Regions from separate parts of the Homo sapiens genome. Here all the other regions are linked to region 2. Evidence: promoter capture Hi-C in human tissues and cell types (Jung and others, 2019). All regions are on one chromosome and are shown on one strand. Each heading gives the region's core, a stretch centred on a gene start or on the middle of the fragment in contact. The rest is flanking DNA. Distances are from core to core; before and after follow the strand shown. Region 1 has its middle 4.4 kb from the start of MIR1289-1. Region 2 holds the start of GSS (glutathione synthetase). Region 3 overlaps MMP24-AS1-EDEM2 (MMP24-AS1-EDEM2 readthrough).

Region 1 (3,732 bases), core at 310-2,809, 490 kb after region 2:
GGCAGGGCACGGTGGCTCATGCCTGTAATCCCAGCACTTTGGGAGGCTGAGGCGGGAAAACTGCCTGAGCCCAGGAGTTGGAGATCAGTCTGAGCAACATGGCACAAGCCCGTCTCTATAAAATAAAAAAAAAATTTAAACACCTTTTTATCGATGCATGATATTCATACCAAATATATTTGATTATAAAATTAAATCATGTTCATTGTAAAAATATTCAAATAATACCAAAGTTTATAAAGTTAAAAGAGAAAGTTCCCCTCTCCCCTCACACCCCAATCTCTCTAATCACAGGAAACCTCTCTAATCACTGGAAACCTTGTTGTCATTCTTGAGCTCAGAAATCTCAGATCCTTGCTGGACTCCTCCACTCCTCCTTCCCTCCATCTAATTCTAATTCCCACTTTGTGTATAAGAACCCTAGCTGGTAAGTACTGTTATCCCCATATTGCAGCTGAGGAATTTGAGGCTCAGAAAGGGAAAGAGGGTTGCTCAAGAACATAAGGCAAGCTGGACGCGGTGGTGCACATCTGTAGTCCTGGCTACGGGACTTTTTGTTTTTTTCAAAAAAAAAAAAAAAAATATATATATATATATAGTTAAGGGCCCCCCCGACTTTTTTTTTTTTTTTTTTTTTGTCTCACTCTGTCACCCAGGCTGGAGTGCAGTGGAGCAATCTTGGCTCACTGTAACCTCCTCCTCACAGGTTCAAGCGATTCTTGTGCCTCAGCCTTCCGAGCAGCTGGGATCACAGGTGCACGACACCAGGCCCGGCTAATTTGTGTATTTTTAGTAGAGACAGGGTTTCGCCATGTTGGCCAGGCTGGTCTCAAACTTCTGGCTTCAAGCGATCCACTTGCCTCCACCTCCCAAAGTGCTGGGATTACAGGCATGAGCCATCAGGCCTGACCAAGGGCCCATTTTTGAGGAAGGAGAGGACCTGGTCCTGTGGGAACTGTGACTGGACATCCTTTATTGCCCAAGCCCTGAGTGATAGTGAAAAGATGTCATCCACTTCAAGAATCTCAAGCTTGGGTACGCTGGTCACTTCGAGCCTGACTTAGTGAGTGAGAGGGGGCTAGGACTGGAATAAGAACTGCCTACTGAGGCGGGGTCAGGACCAGGGAGAAAATATCCAGCTGACAAAGGGAATCCAACTAGGGAGATTGACACAATTCAACCAGATGGTGGCATCAGCAAGAGGAGTGTCCGGCATTCCTAACACATCCCATGCTCTAGCATGCTGCTGTGCCTTTGCACATGCTGCTTGGAATCCCCGCCACCACCCCACCCCTGCCACTTTGCTTAGCATTTTTTTTTGAGATGGGGTCTTGCTATGCTGCCCAGGCTGGTCTCAAACTCCTAAGCTCAAGAGGTTCTTCTGACTCAGCCTCTTGAGTGGGTGGGACTACAGCCACATGCCACCATGCCTGGCTTGTCTGCTTAGCATTTTTTTTTTTTGAGACAGGGTCTTGCTGTGTTGCCCAGGTTGGAGTGCAGTGGCTTGAACACAGCTCACTGCAGCCTCAACCTCCTGGGCTCAAGCGATCCTTCCTACCTCAGCCTCCAGAATAGTTGGGACTACAGTAGTGCACCACCACACCTGGCTAATTTTAGCGTTTTTATCCTTCACAAACAAGTCATAGTGGCCTGATGCTGTGTAGCCAGCTGCTCCCTCTTTATAGAATTTACTACACTGTGTGTGTGTGAACTATTTCTTTACTTGCTTGCCTGCCATGTGAGTTTGTGAACAGAGGCTCTGGACAGAGTTCATTTATTATTGTTCTTTGGGTCCCTCCCAGTGCATAACTCAACTTTTGGCACACAGTAGGTGCTCAATCAATATTTTAAAAATAATGAATGAATGGAACTTCAGCGCGGCAGCTCAAGCCTATAATCCCAGCACTTTGGGAGGCTAAAGTAGGAACATTGCTTGATGCCAGGAATTCAAGACCAACCTGGACAACACAGTGAGTCCCCATCTCTACAAAAAAATTTTTAAACAAATTAGCCAGGACTGGTGGCACAGGCCTATAGTCTTAGCTACTCGGGAGGCTGAGCCAGGAGGATCGCTTGAGCCCAGGAGATTGAAGCTGCAGTGAGCTATGATCAAATCACTGCACTCCAACCTGAGTGAAAGAGCAAAACCCTGTCTCTTAAAAAAAAAAAAAGAGAGAGAGAGAGAATGGGCCGGGCGTCGCGGCTCACGCCTGTAATCCCAGCACTTTGGGAAGCCGAGGTGGGCGGATCACTTGAGGTCAGGAATTCAAGACCAGCCTCGCTAACATGGTGAAACCCCATCTCTACTGAAAAAAAAAAAAAAAGCTGGGTGTGGTGGTGGTGGGCGCCTGTAATCCCAGCTTCTCAGGAGGCTGAGGCACGAGGATCACTTGAACCCAGGAGGCGGAGGTTGCAATGAGCCAAGATCGTGCCACTGCACTCCAGCCTGGGCTACAAAGTGAGACTCTGTAAAAAAAAAAAAAAAGAATGGACTCAGAGGAACAGCAGCAAGAGACTATCGTTTTGGTGCTCCAGACTGTTACCTTGCAGTGAGAAAGAAAGAGGAAAGTGGTTGACTTTTTTTCCCTCTATTTTTCCCTCTCTGTCATCCTCAGCTCACTTTAGTCACTCAACATGTCTCCATGTTAACATGGAGAGGAAGATGGGGGTGGGAAAAGTCTTCTTTGAACCAGTGTAATAGCTGGCTTAGTGCTTTCTGGGCCTCGCAGATGTTTATAGCCATCTCTATCCATCATCAAAGCATCATGGGGTGCTTTTATACACTCTTCAGGGGTTCCCTACTGGCCCCTCTCCTGCAGTTCCCTTAGCAAAGGCATCTATTAATGGCCATTTGTCTAGCTTCTTGTTCCTGGGGTCCCTTTATACCTCCAGGAAGCCCTACTGAACAGGACCTAATAGTCAGCAGGCTTGTCTCTTCTTGCTAGAGTTCACAGGCAGGAAGCATATCCTGGTCACGATACTCCCTAAGTGCAATGGTATGGATTCTGCATCTCAGATTCTCATGGAAGCCCCCTCTCCTAGTCACTTGGTTTGAGCGGTTAAAAGTAATGTCCTCTTAATCTTCCCCAAGGAGGAATGGGGACTCATAGCCAGAAATATCTCCACACAAATTATCTATCCTCCACCTGCAGACCCCTTTATATTGGGATAAGGGATTTAGGAACTTTCAAACAGATTTTAGACTAACAGAAAAAAAAAAAAAAAAAAAAAAATATATATATATATATATATATATATATACACAAATATATATGTAGTGATTTAGCACCTCATTTTGAAATTTCACATACATATATATATATATTTTTTAATTCAGTTAGTCCAGACGGCCTCTTGGCATGGGCTAGGAGGAATATGTATAAATAATGAGCAAGGCTGGGTGTAGGAAAGATCCATATTATAGCCCTCAGAGAGGGTTTGAGTACAAGGCATATTTCTAGAGATGGAATTTAGGATATAAAGGAAGAAACCGTTCCCCTCACCTGGCAGGGACCAGGGTTGATTTTCTTTCAACTCATCCATTGCCTTTCCCTCCAATCCAGCCTCCTTTGAGAACTCCCCAGTCTGGTTCATCAGACAGGTCTGAACATGATCAGACTTGAATTGTCTGGTTTAAGTCTTTATAGGACTCTTGGGCCCCAAGCCAGGTGATAGGTAGGAACACCTGTTTGTACGTCTCAAATGCTCCATGCAGTTTGCAGAATGCGTTTT
Region 2 (4,160 bases), core at 304-2,803:
ACATAAAGATAATCACCATGGGCCAGGTGTGGTGGCTCACTCGTGTAATCCCAGCACTTTGTGAGGCCGAGGCAGGCGGATCACCCGAGGTCGGGAGTTCGAGACCAGCCTCACCAACATGGAGAAACCCCATCTCTACTAAAAATACAAAATTAGCCGGGCCTGGTGGCGCATGCCTGTAATCCGAGCTACTTGGGAGGCTGAGGCAGGAGAATAGCTTGAACCCAGGAGGTGGAGGTTGTAGTGAGCCGAGATCGTGCCATTGCACTCCAGCCTGGGCAACAAGAGCAAAGCTCTGTCAAAAAAAAAAAAAAAGAAAAAAAGAAAGAAAGAAAAGAAATCAGATGAAGGTGCTAAGTGGGCCCTTTGTTTTTCTCATTCTACAGCCTCAACCCTCCCTTGGCTTTATTTATGTTTTGCTGATGACATTCAAATCTACATCTTCACAGCAATACTTTCCTACCTTCAAACTAGAATATCCAATTTTTTCCTGCGAGTCTCCATACAACCAGAATAGAATTTGTTGTTGTCTCCCACAAATCTGCTTCTTCTCTGATGAACCCCACCCAGGTACCCAAGCCTTGAGTACTTGTTTCCTACATCTCACTCTCCCCAAATCCTATGGATTTTGCTGCCTAAGTATATAGTACTTTGAATTCCTTTATTTATCTCCATTTCCAGAGTTTGTAGCCTAGCCCCGGCCACTGTCATCTCTTCCCTGGGCGTGAAACAGATTCAGAGTCAGGTGTCTTCAGTGACCAGGATATGTTGGCCTCTGTCCCCCTTCCAGGACTTGGCACGTGCTGTCTTCTCTTTGGAACTCTCGCCACCACTCCTGATCTGGGCTCGCGATTTCGTTCCGGAAGCTGTCCCTGTTCTCCGCCCCGGGCTTCTACATTCTACAGCCCATCACTTTTCCCTGTACCGTAGGAACAGTGTTTGTCTTGATCACTTCTCTACCTAGTAATTAGCCGCGCTTAGTACTGTATTCATTCATCACATGAATGAATGAAGAATGAATGACAGACGGGTCAGATCACCGAAAGCCTCAAAACGCCCACAAGGAAATCGGTCGCACTTTATCGCCAGGACTTAGGCCAGTGCCTGGAAAGGCCCCGAGGCAACGACACGGTCGGCTGCCCAGGCTGGCCCCACTTCACGGGCCCGCTCGCTTCCACCCTGGACAAAGTTTGGCCCTAATCGCTCCCCGTTGTAGCTCTAACTGGCTCCAGTCTCACTGGCCTACATGCCCCGACACCGGCCCGATCTAAAGGCAGAAGATCCGGAAAGTCTGGGATCAGTGCGCGCCAGCCCAACCCCCTCACTAGACACTAGTTGCCCCGCTCCTACGAAGGGTTTCAGCCACAAGGTCTCCCGGCCTCCGGAATTCCAATCTCTTGCCAGACCCCTCCCTCACATCGTTCCTCCCGAGGAAACGTGACCCATGCCGGCCGCCGTGGCCGCCCCAACCTACTAGTTCGCCTTTCCTCCGCGAACGGTTCTCCCGGCCCTCGCGCCGCTACCCAGGCTCAGGGGGCGGGGCCTCGATGCGACCCAGTGCGCTTGCGCTGACCGCCCCGGCTAGGCTTAAAGAGCAGGCGGGGCAGAGACCCATACCTTTGGCGCTGAGTCGAGGCCAGGAAGGGGCGGTCGATGAGAGGGCGGCCTTAGCATTAGGAGTGCGTCGGCTGCACCCTGGCGGATGGACCTTGGGAAGGAGGGGAGGGGACCATCGGGGTCGGCGGGGAGCTACGGGTATGCATAGCTCATAGAGCGTCAGAGCTGACGACGACTAGTGGAAGATGGGGAAACTAATGCTCAGAGCGGGACAGTCACTACCTCAGGGGCACACAATTGATAAGGGTGGGGGTGGCCGTGGTAATGGAGGCCCCAAGGAGGGGCAGGGGCCCATAGTACGTCAGGGGCTGAGCCTGTATTAGAACCCAGGCTTGTTTCCCAGCCCAGCCAAGTCCCAGAAAAATCCCCCTGATTTTATCTATTTTTTTTTAACCTGGGATACCAGCAGGGAAAGCATTAGAGGCAAAAGGAAAGGATTTTCATTTTTCCAGGAATGCTGAAGTCAGGACTGTTTGAGGGGAGCCCTGTGTTTCTCAGACTCTCTTGTACCGTTTACATCAGGATCTGGGGCAGTTTTTAAAAATATGCGGATTCATGATTCCTACCCCCCACCTCATTGCTTGGCAGCCCCCAGGTGCCTTCCCTGTTTCTTCCTTCTGGGTTGTGATAGGCTTGTCTGCAGTCCGAAGCACCTGATACGAATTTTAGTTAAATGGAATGTATCAGTCCAGCTTCTAGGGAATTAACCATAAATAAGACACAGCCACTGCTTTCAGTCTGATAAGATAGGCAATAAACTGCCTTTCTGAAGGAATCAGGGATGGTTTTTGGGGTCTTGAAGGATGGATAGGAAGGTATAGGTAGTGAAGGAGGTAGGGGTAGAGGTGAGAGGCTGGGATGGGGACAGTGTTCCAAATTGCAGGAACAAAAGCAGCAAAGGCTGGCTGGGTGCAGTGGCTCAGACCTGTAATCCCAGCACTTTGAGAGGCCGAGGCAGGTGGATTACTTGAGCTCAGGAGTTGGAGACCAGGCTGGGCAACATGGCGAAACCCCGTCTCTACTAGAAATACAAGAATTAGCCGGGTGTGTTGGCCCGTGCCTGTAATCCCAGCTACTCGGGAGGCTGCGGCGTGAGAATTCTTGAGCCCCGGAGACGGAGGCTGCTGTGAGCTGAGATCACGCTGCAGCACTCCTGCCTGGGTGACAGCGTGAGACCCTGTCCTAAAAACAAAACAAACGAGCAGCGAAGGCATATAATTCTGAGGGTTGCTCGGCTTGTTTTACAGACACTGAGGAGTTTGGTGTGGATAATGAGGAAGGGCCTGAGGGTTGCAACAGGACTTAGGCGCTTAGGCTTGGAGAGGTAGCCTCAGACGCCAGTTCCACTGAGCAACAGGAGCTAAGGGCTTTAAGCAGGGGAAGGACATGGTTAGTTTTGTGTGTTAGGCACTGGTTACAGCGTGACAAATGGTTTGGAAGTGGGGAGATGGGCCAGAGAAAGCAGAGAGAGTTAAGATGTGAGATCATGAGGCTGTAGCCAGTGCAGCAGCTGTGGAGATGGAGCGAAGCGAACAGATCAAAGAAATTTAGGAGTGAGAACTCCTAGTGATCGTAAATCAGTGGCCCAACCCAGGGACCAAGATCCTTTTGACTCTTTTTTTTTTTTTTTTTTTTTGAGACGGAGTTTTCGTTGTTGTTGCCCAGGCTGGAGTGCAGTGGCACGATCTCAGCTCACTGCAACCTCCACTTCCCAGGTTCAAGCAATTCTCCTGCCTCAGCCTCCCAAGTAGCTGGGATTACAGGCGTCCACCACCACACCCGGCTAATTTTTGTATTTTTGGTAGAGACAGGGTTTCACCATGTTGGCCAGATTGGTCTGAAACTCTTGAGCTCAGGTGATCCACCCGCCCCAGCCTCCCAGAGTGCTAGGATTACAGGCGTTAGCCACTGCGCCCGGCCCCTTTTGACTCTTTAAATAAACCATGTACATTATCTGACTACAGGACAGGCTGAGTCCTCCAGTCTCCCGTGTGTGGTCACGGGATGGGGGGAGATGGTGGCAGATAGGTGTCTGGTTATTCCCAGAACAATGTTTCCTGATGTCCTTTCCTCGTTGGCTTTTGTACCTGAGGGGATAAGCAGCTGTTAACTAGAATAGGCCCCAGGTGGCAGGAAGAGGCTCCTGGGTCAACCAGGAACAAAAGAAGCTATTTCTAGTGCAGCATGAAATTAAAAATCAAAAGCATGACCCAGGGTTCTCTGTGCAGGTTCCCCTCTTCCAAGACGGGTGCCAAGTGATGAGTATCAGGTGTCTATGGTGAGATTTGGGGAGGATCCCAGACCTTAACAGCCCTTTGGTTGAAACCTCTCACAATGTGGCAGGTAAGATGTCTTTATTCCCATTTTGTAGATGTGGCAGCTGAGCCTCAGAAGTTACGTGACTTGTTCAAGGTGACCCAGTTTGTGGTAGGACTGGGAGTGAAGGACTCTTGACTAAGAATCTTTCCAGGGAGCGTTTGCCCTTTCTGCACTCTCTGCCTGGGTGCTTTCCTCCAAAATCCTGGCATGACTGGCTCCTTTGG
Region 3 (3,919 bases), core at 1,003-3,502, 260 kb after region 2:
TGCGGTCCAAGTAAGAGATAATGAAGGGGCTAAATCAAGGTCTTGTCGTAACAGTAATACACAGCCACACCATTTTCAACTTCTTCCCAGTGTATTCCTCAGTTTAGATGTAGCAATTTCCCCAACTGGAAAGTACTTAGGTTGATTTTGGTGTTTTGTAATTACAAAGAATGAGGCAATTGAATAATTTGCTACAAATAATTTTGTGTTTGCACCTATGCAAGGATATCTATCTAGGATAAATTCTCAGAATTAGAATTGATGGGTCAAAGGTATGCTCATTTTCAAGGTTGATAGGCATTGCCAGTTGGTGACCTGAAGAGAGTAAACCAATTTGTATCTCTTCCAACAGTATGGAGGAGTATCTGTTTTATCATGCCCTCTTTAACACTCTGTAGTATCCAACCTTTTGGTATTTGCAGTCTGATAATGTTAAGAAAGCAGTGGCTGATTGTCTTAATTTGCCTTTCTTTAATTACAAACATGGTTGGTCATTTAAAAAATTATTATAGGAGTCTGTTCAGGCCAGGCACAGTGGCTCACGCCCATAATCCCAGCACTTTGGGAGGCCGAGGCAGATGGATCACTTGAGGCCAAGAGTTCCAGATCAGCCTGGCCAACACGGCAAAACCGCGTCTCTACAAAAAACACAAAAAAATTAGTCAGGTATGGTGGCATGTGCCTGTAGTCCCAGCTACTTGGGAGGCTGAGACATGAGAATCGCTTGAACCAAGGAAGCAGAGGTTGCAGTGAGTTAAGATCGTGCCACTGCACTCCATCCTGGGTAACGGAGCGAGACTGTCTCAAAAAAAAAAAAGAGTCCATTTATATTTCTGTTTGCATGAAGCCCATTTAGTCCTTCGCCATTATTGAATTGGGTCATAGGTCTTTTTCTTATTGGTTTATAACAGCTGTTTTACGTTAAAAAAATAATAATAAATATTTTACCTAGTTTATAGTTTGTTGCTTTATTTCTGCTTTTTTTTTGGCCATGCAGATGAAGGCCTGAATTTTTGAAACCTAAGTGAACTGTTACTGCTTTCACTGTATACCAGTATTTTGCAATATAAGCCCTCTTTTCAGGGAGTGGCCTTTAGAGACTATTACACTTATTTTTTTAGAAGCTCAGCTTGTTCATTTGGAGAACATACAATATTAAAGGGAAAAAATGCTCAGCTTGTACTTATTTTTTGAAGAGATAATATATCCACATGATTAAAAAGTCAAAAGATACAAAAAGGTATACAGTGAGAAAAATCTCCTTCCAGCCAGGCATGGTGGCTCCCACCTGTAATCCCAGCACTTTTGGGAGGCCAAGGCAGGCGGATCACATGAGGCCAGGAGTTCGAGACCAGCCTGCCCAACATGGTGAAACACTGTCTCTACTAAAAATATAAAAAATAGCTGGGCTTTGTGGTGTTTGCCTGTAGTTCTAGCTACTTCGGAGGCTGAGGCAAGAGAATTGCTCCAACCCAGGAGGCAGAGGTTTCGGTGAGCCGAGACTGTGCCACTGCACTCCAGCCTGGGTAACAGAGCGTGACTCCATCTCAAAAAAATAAAATAAAATAATTAAAAAAAATTAAAAAATAAAAATAAAAATTGCCTTCCCACCCTGTCCTCAAACCACTTAAGCTTCCCTCCAGGAAGTAAGCACTATTATCAGTTCCTTGGGTATCTGTCCCTATTTTATGTGTAAATGAGCAAGTGCATGCACACACATGTATTCTTTTTTCCGATTATTACACAAATAGTAGCCTACAATATCCAGGATTCTGCACCTTTGCCTTTTTTTTACCACTTAACATTACATTTTGGAAATAATGTCCTAATTATTCATAAATTCGTAAGTACTTCCTCATTTTAAAAAATGGCTGCATTGGGCCGGGCGCGGTGGCTCACGCCTGTAATCCCAGCACTTTGGGAGTCCAAGGCGGGTGGATCACAAGGTCAGGAGATCGAGACCATCCTGGCTATCACGGTGAAACCCTGCCTCTACTAAAAAAATACAAAAAAATTAGCTAGGCGTGGTGGTGGGCGCCTGTAATCCCAGCTACTCGGGAGGCTGAGGCAGGAGAATTGCTTGAACCCAGGAGGTGGAGGTTGCAGTGAGCCGAGATCGCGCCACTGCACTCCAGCCTGGGCGACAGAGCGAAACTCCATCTCAAAAAAAAAAAAAAAAAATTACAAAAGGCTGCATAGTGTCCCATTGTATGCATTGGTTTGAATATGCTTTTAAGGGAGAAACCTGAGTAAGAAATACTCTCAAGTCATTTGGGGCTGGACATTGAGACTGAGTCGGGGGATTGGACTGGGACCTTCTCTAGATCCTGAACAATCAGACCTTTTCCTTCCTCCAGGCCTTTACCTCCCATTTTCTTTTTCTTTTTTTTTTTTTTTTTGAGATGGAGTCTCACTCTGTAGCCCAGGCTGAAGTGCAGTGGCACCATCTCAGCTCACTGCAACCTCTGTCTCCTGGGTTCAAGAGATTCTCCTGCCTCGGCCTCCTGAGTAGCTGGGATTACAGGCACGCGCCACCAAGCCAGGCTAATTTTTTTGTGTTTTTAGTAGAAACGGGGTTTCACCCATGTTGGTCAGGCTGGTCTCAAACTCCTGACCTCAAGTGATCCACCCGCCTCAGCCTCCCAAAGGTGCTGGGATTACGGGCGTGAGCCACAGCGCCCGGCCTTTTACCCTCCATTTTCTGCCAATTAAAACTTCACACAGTCTTCCATTGCTTGTAACTTTTGAACACGTGTGTGGTAATGTTCTGTGTATATTGCATATAAAACTATTAGCTTTTAAAATATTACCAGTTTATATAGACTCATCTCAAATGCTACTTCCTTTTGGAAACCTTCCTTGATCTCCCTGATATCCCCAGCCAGAGTGACCTCACTCCCCTCTGAAATCCTATAGAATGGTGTAATGTTTTGTGGTTATTTGTCACGCCTTTTATGTGCACAAGTCTTATCTTTTTTTTTTTTTTAACCTGAAGACGGCCTCACTTGCCCCAGTACCTTCCACAGAGTGGCTTCTGAGTAATGTTTACAGAATTTTTGAGGTAATTAATGAATGAACAAAGGCACCAAGGGTTAAGGACATGAATTTAGTGTCAGACACTTGGGTTCTACTCCTGGTTTTGCTGTTTTTTAGGTGTGTCGTGGGGTAGGTCACTTCTCTCACCCTTTCCTTAGAATCCACTTCACAGGACAGTGGTGAGGATTAAGTGATTTGATGTAGGTAAATTGCTTTTCATTGACTGTTAGCTGCTGAAATAGGAATTCAGAGGAAGGAGGAGAGAGGTCAAGGAGACTTCCTAAGCTGGACTGTGCTCTCCAGCCACCCTCTCATTTATATTTCCTTTCAGATCTCTACTAAGAATGTCACTCTGGCCGGGCGCAGTGGCTCACTCCTGTAATCCCAGCACTTTGGGAGGCCGAGGCAGGAGGATCACTTGAGGTTGGGAGTTCGAGACCAGCATGACCAACATGGAAAAACCCCGTCTCTACTAAAAATACAAAATTAGCCAGGCGTGGTGGTGCATGTCTGTAATCCCAGCTACTCGGGAGGCTGAGGCAGGAGAATCACTTGAACCCGGGAGGCAGGGGTTGCGGTGAGCCGAGATCACACCATTGCACTCCAGCCTGGGCTACAAGAGCGAAACTCTGTCTCAAATAAATAAATAAATAAAACAAAATAAAAAATAAAGAATGTCACTCTTCCTTGTTCCTGCATTTTCTTTTTATGTCTTTATCTTTTGGGTAAATTTGCCTGGCTTCAGGGCGAAGGCCCTCCAGCACCAAGAGCTGCCTAGTACTGCAGATTCTTACGACCACTCAAATCTTTCTTTCCTTTATAAGAAACAAGCAACTCTACCCTATGGTTGAGCCAATGTGTCAGTTTCTTCCTATCCAAATGG

What was found. Contacts are between HindIII fragments. The study calls those that stand out against the background at their distance.
Region 1: a contact is called between a fragment that was not itself captured here and the fragment with the promoter of GSS in region 2, in 2 of the 25 tissues and cell types used here (bladder and dorsolateral prefrontal cortex).
Region 3: a contact is called between a fragment that was not itself captured here and the fragment with the promoter of GSS in region 2, in 1 of the 25 tissues and cell types used here (hippocampus).

Annotation. Positions count from the first base shown.
Region 1 is chr20:35,447,833-35,451,564 of GRCh38, forward strand. It overlaps a transcript of GDF5 not described here. Among named protein-coding and RNA genes, the nearest start is that of MIR1289-1, 4.4 kb to the right of the region's middle. The HindIII fragment of the contact is 8,774 bases long and covers 1-3,732 here.
Region 2 is chr20:34,954,253-34,958,412 of GRCh38, forward strand. It overlaps GSS (glutathione synthetase), which reads right to left and starts at 1,554. Exons shown (of 13, transcript NM_000178.4): 1 at 1,475-1,554. MYH7B (myosin heavy chain 7B) reads left to right here and starts at 1,616. Exons shown (of 45, transcript NM_020884.7): 1 at 1,616-1,755; 2 at 3,846-3,960. RefSeq lists enhancers at 1,362-1,461, 1,702-1,881. The HindIII fragment of the contact is 12,827 bases long and covers 1-4,160 here.
Region 3 is chr20:35,212,526-35,216,444 of GRCh38, forward strand. The region is part of intron 4 of MMP24-AS1-EDEM2 (MMP24-AS1-EDEM2 readthrough); the gene reads right to left. It also overlaps a transcript of PROCR not described here. Among named protein-coding and RNA genes, the nearest start is that of MMP24, 12 kb to the right of the region's middle. RefSeq lists an enhancer at 3,535-3,919. The HindIII fragment of the contact is 7,963 bases long and covers 1-3,919 here.